Regions from separate parts of the Homo sapiens genome. Here all the other regions are linked to region 4. Evidence: promoter capture Hi-C in 16 types of primary human blood cells and fetal thymus (Javierre and others, 2016). All regions are on one chromosome and are shown on one strand. Each heading gives the region's core, a stretch centred on a gene start or on the middle of the fragment in contact. The rest is flanking DNA. Distances are from core to core; before and after follow the strand shown.

Region 1 (2,700 bases), core at 196-2,695, about 11 Mb after region 4:
CCCTTGGACCAGGGCAAGAAGGCCTCTGCCCTGGCTTCTGTGTATTAGAGGTTCTGTTCTAGCCCTTCTCTGCCCATGCTGCTCCACGCAAGGCAAGGAGGTCCCAGGGCCAGATGACAGGCCCACCTGGGGTGCTCACACACATACACACACATGCTCTTCTAGAACACGTTCTAAGTACCCAACACCCTTACCTTCCCTGCTCAAAGGGGCCCAAGCTGCTTTCTAAGGCTTTAAAAGGCCTCTTGGCTGGGTCTTTCCTGCAAGGGTGACCATCACTGGCATGCTCACTGCCCGGCCAAGAGGAGGCTGAGGTGGGGATGTAGGCAGAGTTGGGACTTGCTGGCTGGAGAAGAGGAGGAGAAGAGGCAGGGCACACACATCCCTGCTAGTGTATGAGACCCCCTCACAAAGCAAGACTGAGCCTGGGGTGGGAAATGGAGTTGGGGGGAGCTGGAGAAGCAGGCAAACTAAATTCCACCCTGGTTGTCCAGGTTCTTAAGAAGGCATATTGGTCAAAGTGGAGAGGAGAACACGTATTTTACCTAAGTTTGTTATCTTGAATTATAATTCAATATTTAGGCGGATGGTATGAGGGCCTCCATTCACACTCTTGCCCTGGAACTGGCAAATGTGAATGGAAGGCTGAGTAAAATCATAGTTTTGTGTTGTTGGCCTTTGAGTGTTCCATCTCTCTTACAATTTTAGTTTGTCACACCTTGCACCTTGTATGTGTAAGTAAAATTAATGGCATAGGAAAGAAACCAAAAGAAGTGAACAATAAGAGACTAAAGAAACTCTACAGGCCGGGCATGGTGGCTCATGCAAGTAATCCTAACACTTTGGGAGGCCAAGGTGGGTGGATCACCTGAGGTTGGGAGTTCAAGACCAGCCTGGCCAACATGGTGAAACCCCGTCTCTCCTTAAAATATAAAAAATACCAAAAAAAACAAAAATTATCTGGGTGTGGTAGCGCACACCTGTAATCCCAGTTATTCAGGAGGCTGAGGCACGAGAATCTTTTGAACCCGGGAGGCAGAGCTTGCAGTGAGCCGAGATCACGCCACTGCACTCCAGCCTGGGCAACAGAGTGAGACTCTGTCTCAAAAAAAAAAAAAAAAAAAAGGAAAGGAAGGCAGAGAAGCAGGCTAAGGCTTAATTTTTCTGCCCAGTGGGTTTTGAAATATGGTTGGCTTCCTTCAGGAAGCTTTTTCCCGACGTTGGTGATGATAATAAAACCTGATGCTTTCTATGTGCTGGGCCCACTTATAAACACTAACACATATTAACAATCGAATCCTAAACTAATCCTGTGTTAACAGCCTCCCACTTTACATATGAGGAAACCTGGGGTGACTTGCACACGGCTTGGCAGCTGGGACGTGGATAGGGAATGTACACCCAGGCAGTCTGGCTCCCGGGCTCCTGCTAGAGGATCCTACAGGACATTAGGAGCATTGTCCCTTAGAGCTGTCTGCACAAACGTCTGCTTCCCAAGCAACTAGTTATCAACTTTTCCCTCTCGCCAACGATACTGGCACCTGGAACAATCCTTAGATTCAGCACGGATTTTCGAGTAAGGGGTTGGTCCACTGTCGGGGCTGAGCACGGCTGTTTAGCATTTGAGGGTTTGTCTTTTTTTACTTGGTGTTTTGTGTCGCTTTTGAGTGCTGATATAATAGAACAAGCTTAGTACAGTGCCTGGCACTCAACAAATCCTGGCAAGAAAGGAGATCGAGGAAAAGAAGCAAGCGAGAGACGAAAGAAAGGGAGGGAATGCGCCTTGTAACATTAACGTAGCTTGTGCGAATCCTGGAAGGTGAGGGGAAAGGAGACACCGCGTCAAGGGAGAGAGGAGAGGGCACCGAGCGCCCGCCCCTCCGACGTGGTCCGCCCCGGCCTCACGACGCCCCGCCTCTGCCACGCCTCTTCCCCGCCCCATGCAGGTCTTCGTCCCGCCCCCCACAAAGCCGGCTTCCGCCCCGTCCCTCAGCGGCGCCCCGCCCCCACGGCGTCTTGCCCCGCCTCCTGCAGGCGGCCCGGCGCGGTGTTTACCCGCGGTGCATGGTGGGGCGGTCTCCTTCGGCAACCCCGGCCGAACGGCCACCCAGAGGCTGTGCTGAGCTGGCGCAGCGGCAGCAGCATGAGCCGGACCCTCGCATCGGCCGTGCCCCTGTCGAGTCCCGACTACTACGAGAGGCTGGGCCAACTCCAGCACGGGCTGCGGGACAGGTAAGGGCACTGGGGCGGGGGTGGGGAGTCGGCCCGCGCCGGGGGTCTTCCGCGTGCCCTGCCCCATTTTCCTTCCCGCTCCCCCGTCCGAGGTTCCCCGGGGCCCAGGCCCGCGCGCAACGCCCCCCAGGCTCCCAGTGGGGCCTGGAGGACAGTGTTTACTAGAGCCACCCCCTGTATTGGGGGTGGGAGCGGAGAGAGGTGAGAGACCGCCCCCGCCCCGTCAATAGCAGCTAAAGCCTGGTCTACGGTTTGAGGATGCGGCCGCGTCACAGAATTTGCCCAGAAGTGAAGGTGGGAGTTCTTCTGCCTGTCACTCTCCATCAAGCCTTGTGAGTTTCTCTTGTCCCCTTTTACACGCCCCCTCCCCACTCTCTTCAAATTGCCATCCCGCCGTGACAGCTGCACTGCATCAATGATGACAAGTCCTGGAACGCAGACGGTTGTGTGTGTGTGTGTCAAACATGT
Region 2 (2,700 bases), core at 44-2,543, about 13 Mb after region 4:
TTCTTTGGTTTAGGTTTGATGAAAGGCCACTCCAGTGGGGTAGGAGGTGGGCAGGGAGAACAGGGGCTAGGGTGGGAGGGGCAGGAGTTGGGTCCTGGGGGTGGAGGAGATGACGGGGAGAGTGGCTTGGAGAAATCTGCAAGAAGAGACATTGGAAGGCCGGGGGAGGTGAAATGGACACTGGGTGAAGCTGAGGAGTCCTAGTGAACCATGTTACCTCTGATCCAGATATTCCCAGAACAACAAGAAATCAAGCTTCTGAATGTGGTCTGTTGCAAGCTTGGAAGGTGCACACCTGTTGCTGCTAATTTGGACAATTTGGGGGAAGAGCAGAGATTTAGATGTTGCTTTGGTCGACCTTAAACACCAGCCCTGTCTCCCCTACCACTTTGCCAAATTAGGGCCCCGTCTCTCTAAAGAGCAAACAGAAAACTGCAGAAAGTTGCTTTGTCCTGTAGACAAGAGGCTGGGACTAGGTAAGAGGAGGGAGCCAGGATGCAAAACTTAAGACCAGCCTGGCCAACAAGGCGAAACCCCGTTTCTACTAAAAATAGAAAAATTAGCTGGGCGTGGTGGCAGGCGCCTGTAATCCCAGCTACTCAGGAAGCTGAGGCAGGACAATCGCTTGAACCCAGGAGGCGGAGGTTGTAGTCAGCCAAGATCGCGCCACTGCATTCCAGTCTGGGCGACAGAGCGAGACTCCGTAACAAAAAACAAACAAACAAACAAAAAATCTTAAACATCACCAACGAGCCTTGTGAGAAATGGTTTAACGTTGTGATACCTTGCCCAATTTTAAGGCAGGTAAAGGTGTGTGTTAAAACTCAACTCTTGAACTGAACCCCAGCTGCCCTTTAGGGCATGCTTAATTTGATGTGGACTGTAACCTCTTTTGCAGCATTGTAGAGATTTGGAATCTGCACATTAGGAAGAGACCCCACGAGGCGGTGGCGTTCTTTCTCGTTCGGAGCTCACACCCCTCCTGGGGAGCCCTCTCCCAACCCGGGCTCCCGGTAAGCGCGGTCGCCGCTCCTCTGAGGGCTGCTCTTCCCTCGCTTCTGAGCCGAGGCCCCCGCGACACGAACGCCACGCCCGAAGCGCTCTTGCCAGGACGTACTGACCGAGGGTAGGCTGCCCAGCCGGGTGGTAACGTTGAGGAAAGGACAGCAGCTTCGCAAAGGAGCTGGGTAAAACCACGCCCAGACCCCGCTGGCCACCAGCCCGAGACCAAGACGCAGGCGGTGGCGCCGGTTTCTCACTCAACCGCAGGTTCCAGCATCCCCGATACGGCCGACGTCATTACCCTGCGACCGCTCAGGACACTTCTGAGGACTCTTTTGACAGCTAGTAATCGCGCGGTGGCGCGACCACGTGACTCCGGCGCCCTAGCCCCGCCCTCCGTCTCCAAGGAGCCCTGGAAGGAGCTATACCAGCGGCTCCAGAAGGCGGGGAGAGGCGGGGCCGGACTCCGGGACAGCCAATGGGCGAGGAGTGCCGCCCAGCCTGACCCACCGGCCGCTCCCTCACGAGCCTGTGGGCGTGCGCCGGCTGTGCAGGTGAGGGGCAGCGAGGGCGCCTAGTGGGCAGGGCGCCGGCGTTGCGCGTGCGTCAGTGTTCTTCCTTGTGCAGTTTAGAATTTGATACATTTCTTTCCAGTCTATTTCTATAGATTTGTTTTCAAATCACATCAGACCCTATGTAAAATAGTGTACCGTCTTTACTCATTATAACATGGTGAGCATTTCCCCAAGCTATTACACATATTTTTAAACATTGTTTTAATGACCGGCATAATAATCCAGTGCTTGGATATATCAAATTCTTCGGCCATCTCCTTATAGGTGAGATTGTTTCCAAAGTTTCACTAATGTAAGTGCACTGCAGTGAACGCCCTTACGTAACAATTGTTCACTCCCGTGTACTTTTCTCGTGCAGAGTTCTACAGCATGAAACACTATATTTAACTTTGTCAGGTTGATGTTTATCAGTGGTTTATTATTGTTTTTATAGTATTCCATTGTCAGTGAAGTATGCCATTCACACTGTCAAGTGAATTGTCTATTTGTATTATTTAAAAAAAAGATCACAAACATAGAAAGGAGAGCTTTATTTCTTTAAACGGTGATAACCTGCAAGGTGGCCCTTCTGACAGGCTGGGAAGCATAGCTTCTGGCAGAAGCTCAAAAGGCAGGCAGCTGGAGGGAAGGGGGCCTAAGACAGGAATTTAAGCTGAAGGACTTAGCCAAGTACACATATGAACAGGCCACAGGAAGAGCTATGAATATTCATGAAACGGGTCCTGACCCATGCTTACTGGACAAACGTGCATGTTACAGGTGACCTATGTTTACTTTGGGGTGGACTCTTAGCATTTACAGGTATTCATGTATTACATTTAGACCCTATAAGTTGAAAGATCTTTTCAGGACACCGATGCACTTGTGTGCAGCCTCTGTAAACCGCCAGAATCAGCCCCTGTTCGGTTGTTTCCCATCAGGAAAAAGTTACTGCAGTCAGTCTCTGGTCCAATCAAAGCAGTAATTATTTGTGGAAGTGGTGGGGCTGGGGCAGGGGGCGTGTCAGTCAGCATGTGGAGGTGGATGAAAAGCACATTGTTTGAATATTGCTTATCTAGAGGCCAGTGCTTGTTTGGCTGCCAGAGAATAAAAACCTTGTGGCAGTTAAGGCATAGTTTCTTCT
Region 3 (2,700 bases), core at 131-2,630, about 11 Mb after region 4:
TCTTTCTTCCTTTAAATCGTTTTCTTAGTTTTTATTCTTAATTCTTTTTTTTTTTTTTTTGAGACGGAGCCTCGCTCTGTCTCCCAGGCTGGAGTGCAGTGGCTCAATCAATCTCGGCTCACTGCAAGCTCCGCCTTCGGGGTTCACGCCATTCTCCTGCCTCAGCCTCCTAAGTAGCTGGGACTACAGGCGCCCGCCACCACGCCTGGCTAATTTTTTTGTACTTTTAGTAGAGACGGGGTTTCACCGTGTTAGCCAGGATGGTCTCGATCTCCTGACCTTCTGATCCGCCTGCCTTGGCCTCCTTATTCTTAATTCTTAAGAAATGCTGTGTGGGATGTGAGATTTCCGAGTCATTGTAGGACCCAAAATAGCTCCATTCTACCCTTATACACGTGAATGATCATTAGCTAGGCATGGAATTCGAGGTGTTTTTTTTTTCTTCTTCTTTGAGACGGAGTCTAGCTCTGTCACCCAGGCAGGAGTGCAGTGGTGTGATATCGGCTCACTGCAGCCTCCACTTCCCGGGTTCAAGCCGTTCTCCTGCCTCAGCCTCCCGAGTAGCTGGGACTACAGGCGCGCCACCACGCCCGGCTAATTTTTGTAGTTTTAGTAGAGACGGAGTTTCACCATGTTGGCCAAGCTGATCTTGAACTCCTGACCTCAGGTGATCCACCAGCCCCTGCCTCCCAAAGTGCTGGGATTACAGGCATGAGCCACCGCACCTGGCCAGGAATTCCAGTTTTAATATTAGGTTCCCTCAGAACTTTGAAAGAAATTGTTCTTTTGTACTCTCTCATCTAGTAGTGTTGATGACAAGTTCGGTGTTAATGTGATGTATTTATTTAACCAGCAGTTATATAGCATTTACCATTGTTTTAAGAACTTTATTATAACTTGTTTGATCCTCACAACCACATGACTTCTACTGTTGTAATTATTTTTATTACATACAAATAATAGAAGCACGTTATTTGGAGACAACCAATATTGTTATTATGTTATAATAATTACTATGTTTATTGGCCGGGTGCGGTGGCTCACGACTGTAATCCCAGCACTTTGGGAGGCTGAGGTGGGTGGATCACGAGGTCAAGAGATCCAGACCATCCTGGCTAACATGGTGAAACCCCATCTCTACTAAAAATACAAAAATTAGCTGCGCATGGTGGCGCGCCTGTAGTCCCAGCTACTTGGGAGGCTGAGGCAGGAGAATCACTTGCACCCGGGAGACAGACATTGCAGTGAGCCGAGATCCCGCCACTGCACTCCAGCCTGGTGACAGAGCGAGACTCCATCTCAGAAAAATAATGATTATTGTTATGTTTATTATTATTTCAGATGAGAAAATGGAAACACAGCAGGGTCGCGTATCATACCCAAGGTCACTCAGCTGATAAATGTCAGAGCTAGTGTGGAAACCAGAAGGACTTAATTTTTATGCTCATATGCTTTCATTCTTTTGTGATCAGTTTTCCTTCCTAGATTTTAAAAAGATCTTTTTCTTGATAGTGTAAACTTTCATTATTAGGTACCCAGGTATAGATGTTATTTTAAATTCAGATTCATTTTGATCAGTACGTGGCTCACTCTTTGAGTCTGGAGTCTTACGTTCTTCGGTTTTAGGGAATGCTGTTTGATGATTTCTTGACCTTTTTTTCTTCCCTTTCCAGACTCAGGATACTGGTCCTCTTAGACTCATGTATTTTTATTTTTATTTTCTCTCTCATTCTCTGGCTTTCCTTGAAACCTCCCCCAACCTTTGGTGTTTTTGCAGCTTTGTTGAGGTATACTTGACATAGAATAAACTGCAGGTAATTAAAGTGTACAATTTTCTTTTAACTTTTTTCGAGTTGAGGTCTTGCTCTGTCACCAGGCTGGAATGTAGTGTGCAATCATGGCTCACTGCAGCCTCAAAGTCCTGGGCTTAAAGTATATAATTTAATACAGTGCATACATCTGTGAAACCAGCACAACCAAGACAGTGAACGTGACCTCTAAAACATTCCTTCTGCCCTTTTGTAGTTCCTTTCTACTATCCCTCCCTGCCACCTGTCTTTTGCCAACCACTGACTGGTTTGCTTTCTGACCGTATGATAAGTTTTCATTTTCTATAATTTTTTATAAATGAGATTATATAGTATATACTCATTTTTTGCCTCAGTTACTTTCATTCAGTATACTTATTTTGAAATTCTTCCGTTGTTGTATGTGTCAGTAGTTTATTTCTTTTTTGTTTTTATTTTTTTTTGAGATGGAGTCTCGCTCTGTCGCCCAGGCTGGAGTGCAGTGGTGCGATCTCGGCTCACTGCAACCTCCACCTTCTGGGTTCAAGCAATTCTCCTGCCTCAGCCTCCCAAGCAGCTGGGATTACAGGCACATGCCACCACACCCGGCTAATTTTTGTATTTTTAGTAGAGATGGAGTTTCACCATGTTGGCCAGGCTGGTCTTGAACTCCTGACCTCAAGTATCTGCCTGCCTCGTCTTTTAATTTTTGGATAGTATTCTGTGTGTAGATACACCACATTTTATTTATTTATTCAGATGATTGATGAACATTGGGATTGTTTCCAGTTTTTGGCTTTCTGAAAAAGAAACCTATGAACATCTCTGTACAAGTCATTGTAGGGACGTATGCTTGCATTTGTTTGGGGGAAAAACATTAGGAGTGAAATGGTTGGATTGTATATTAGGTGTG
Region 4 (2,700 bases), core at 190-2,689:
CTTTGTCAAAAAAAAAAAAAAAAAAAAAAAAAATCGTGTAGTTTTGTACACAACTTGCCACCTCCTTCCATGTACCTTAAATAATCTCTAGGCTACTTATAATACCTAATACAACGTTAAATGCTATGTAAGTAGTTGTTACACTGCAGTGTTTAGGGAATGACAAGAAAAAAGGTCTGCACGTGTTCAGTACAGATGTAACCATCTTTTTTCCCCCAGAATGTTTTTATTTATTTATTTTCTTAAATAGAGTCTCTGTCGCCCAACCTGGAGTGCAGTGGCGTGATCTCCGCTCACCGCAACCTCCGCCTCCAGGGCTCAAGCGATTCTCCTGCCTCAACCTCCCAAGTAGCTGGGATTACAGGCGTGCGCCACTGCGCCCGGCTCATTTTTTTGTACTTTTAGCAGAGACCGGGTTTCGCCACGTTGGCCTGGCTGGCCCCAAACTCCTGACTCAAGTGATCCGCCCGCCTCGGGCTCCTAAAGTGCGGGGTTACAGGGGTGAGCCACCAAACCCCGCCGCCCCAAAATATTTTCTATCCGCAGTTGGTTGAATTCACACATGCGGAACTCATGGATAGGGAGCGTATTGTTTCTCCCCCATCACTAGAACATGGAGTCAGGACCGTGCAAGTCCCTCTTGGTCACTGCCGTATCTACTAACTCGGCAGTGCTGTAGACACGTGTATATCTGTTTATGGATAAACTGAAGATGTTAATGAATGAATGAAACCGTCATATTGAGTCTCTGAAACGGCAACAGGATTTGGGTATGGTCTTATCGGGGAGGAAGACGAGCATGACCTTAGAGGGTCATCCCTACAAGGTCCACAGCCCTGCAAGCCCCGCGGCTGCTTTCACGTAGCTGGCAGGGCCACGCTGCACAACGTCTCTAACGCCGTCGGAGGGCGGCCCCCACCTCCCGACAGCCTGGGGTACACCGTGCACCCTCCAGACAGTCAGGGGCACACGGGGCCCCTCCCAGCGAGGGAGGGGACGGGGAGTCACAGGTTCGGCGTAGAAGGCGGCAGCGCAGGTGGGAGCGTGGTGAGGCGCCACTCCTCCAGCTCTCCCCACCGGCGGGAAGACCTCCTCGCCGCCCGCATCCGTGCCGACCGCAACATTTACCATCGGCAGCTATTTCAGAGGTCGGTCTTTCGCCTCCTACAGAGAGCCAGCCTCCTCCTTGTCCCCGCCCTCAAATATCCTTCAGTGAGGACACCGGTGACCTTTGGGGGTGGAGAGGGAGGCGCCTACAAGCCCCTTCCCCTCTCTTCGGCCGGACACAAAGCGGGCTTTTCCACCTAGAGTCCCAGCGCTCTCACCTGCGCACCAGCCGTCGCGCCGCCCCAGGCCGCCACCGCCAGAGGCCCCAGAAACAGATCTCAAGCAGCCGCTGCTGCCGCGGATCCCGACAACCTTCGCGTCGCGCGAGGGCACGGAGCACGCGCAGCTCTGCGGTCGACGCCGGGCCGCCCCCACTCCGCTTCTCCGGGTTTTCCGTGAAGCTCCAGCCAACAGCGGCCGTCACCGGAAAAAACGGGGAGCGAAGTTTATTCAGCGTATATTCCAGCAAATTGTTGAAACTGAAATTTTAAAAGAACGCATAAAATTTAAATAACATATCAAAATGGCACAGCTTCTGCCTTTTGGTGAGCGCTTGACAATGATTTATTGAATGAAAGAAAGAAATAGTCCACTGCGCTCTGCTCTCTGTCCTGACATGACCAATTACAAAGCGCTTGGATTTGTCGCTCAGCGCCAGTATCCCGCCTCTCTGTGCGGTTGTCTGGAAAATCAGGATTTTTACTCTCCCGTAACTCCCGGGATCGGGTTTGGAAAACGGACATGCGCCGTGAGAGCTAGTTGCCTTCTACTAAAGCATCCGCCCTCAGTCCTTCCTGAGGGCTTACAGGGAAGTGCGGAGTTTCGCAGCTCGTACTCTTCACAGATTAGATAATTCACCCGGCATTTCCCCATCCTGCTTCTGGGTTCCAGGACAAAACTTTTATTCTCTTTTAACATTAAAAAACATATAGGAAGTTATGTTCAAACATGGCTATTTTTATTAAAATTTATCCGGCACTGTGAAAGCTACCTTTCCTTTCTCACAATCTTTCGCACCGAATATATGTTCCATTCTTGAGCTAGTCATTTTCCAATGTTAAGAAAACACACCACAGAAAAGCGTTTTTTTTTCTCTCGGTCAGTTCAACTGCCTAGCACCGTGAGTTACCATGATACGTTATTTGCTAATGAGAGTCATTGGGGTCCCAGCCTTTAAAAATAGCCTGCGTCCGGCGCCATTTTTGTTTTGGGCCCACTTTGAAAGCCGCGATATTCTGAACAGAGGCCATTTTTCTTTTGGGCAGATTCCACGGGCCATCGAAGTGTTTCGCTGCCATCTTAAATCCTGGCTGTGGCCTCAATCCTGCAGCGAAGCTGCCCAGATCATTTTGTGTTTGGGCGGCGGCTGAGTTCCCAAACGCGCGCGGAGACCCTGGGAAGGAGGAAGTAAGCGCGAAAGTGCTTCCCTTAAGCTTCTGAAGGTTGGCTGCAGTTCCGGCTACCTGTGTAGTCCGAGTTTCCACAGCCAGGTACTACTCCGCCAGTGACCCTGGACAGTAACAAAACATATAAAGCCCGAGCCCAAACCCCGCCACCATCATAGGTAAGCACATGGACCTCTGACAACCTCAG

What was found. Contacts are between HindIII fragments. The CHiCAGO score rates a contact against its expected background, and 5 or more counts as called.
Region 1: a fragment that was not itself captured here is called in contact with the fragment with the promoter of MKKS in region 4 in 1 of 17 cell types (total B cells); the score reaches 9.5 in total B cells.
Region 2: a contact is called between the fragment with the promoter of LINC01431 here and the fragment with the promoter of MKKS in region 4, in 4 of 17 cell types (total B cells, naive CD8 T cells, non-activated CD4 T cells and 1 more). The highest score is 8.1, in total B cells.
Region 3: a fragment that was not itself captured here is called in contact with the fragment with the promoter of MKKS in region 4 in 1 of 17 cell types (total CD4 T cells); the score reaches 6.8 in total CD4 T cells.

The regions. Positions count from the first base shown.
Region 1 is chr20:21,123,973-21,126,672 of GRCh38, forward strand. KIZ (kizuna centrosomal protein) reads left to right here and starts at 2,110. Exons shown (of 13, transcript NM_018474.6): 1 at 2,110-2,232. The coding sequence starts at 2,144. RefSeq lists enhancers at 1,579-1,678, 2,579-2,628 and a silencer at 1,839-2,418. The HindIII fragment of the contact is 481 bases long and covers 1,206-1,686 here.
Region 2 is chr20:23,356,834-23,359,533 of GRCh38, forward strand. LINC01431 (long intergenic non-protein coding RNA 1431) reads right to left here and starts at 1,294. Exons shown (of 3, transcript NR_109884.1): 1 at 1,122-1,294; 2 at 218-304; 3 at 1-136. RefSeq lists enhancers at 720-809, 1,000-1,389 and a silencer at 1,440-1,629. The HindIII fragment of the contact is 4,137 bases long and covers 278-2,700 here.
Region 3 is chr20:21,305,704-21,308,403 of GRCh38, forward strand. The region is part of intron 1 of XRN2 (5'-3' exoribonuclease 2); the gene reads left to right. Among named protein-coding and RNA genes, the nearest start is that of XRN2, 3.7 kb to the left of the region's middle. The HindIII fragment of the contact is 4,700 bases long and covers 1-2,700 here.
Region 4 is chr20:10,432,783-10,435,482 of GRCh38, forward strand. It overlaps MKKS (MKKS centrosomal shuttling protein), which reads right to left and starts at 1,440. Exons shown (of 6, transcript NM_170784.3): 1 at 1,326-1,440. SLX4IP (SLX4 interacting protein) reads left to right here and starts at 2,523. Exons shown (of 8, transcript NM_001009608.3): 1 at 2,523-2,671. It overlaps LOC128706665, which reads right to left and starts at 1,440. Exons shown (of 3, transcript NM_001394148.2): 1 at 1,326-1,440. LOC128706666 reads right to left here and starts at 1,440. Exons shown (of 3, transcript NM_001394149.2): 1 at 1,326-1,440. RefSeq lists enhancers at 1,287-1,346, 2,237-2,466, 2,627-2,676. The HindIII fragment of the contact is 4,604 bases long and covers 1-2,538 here.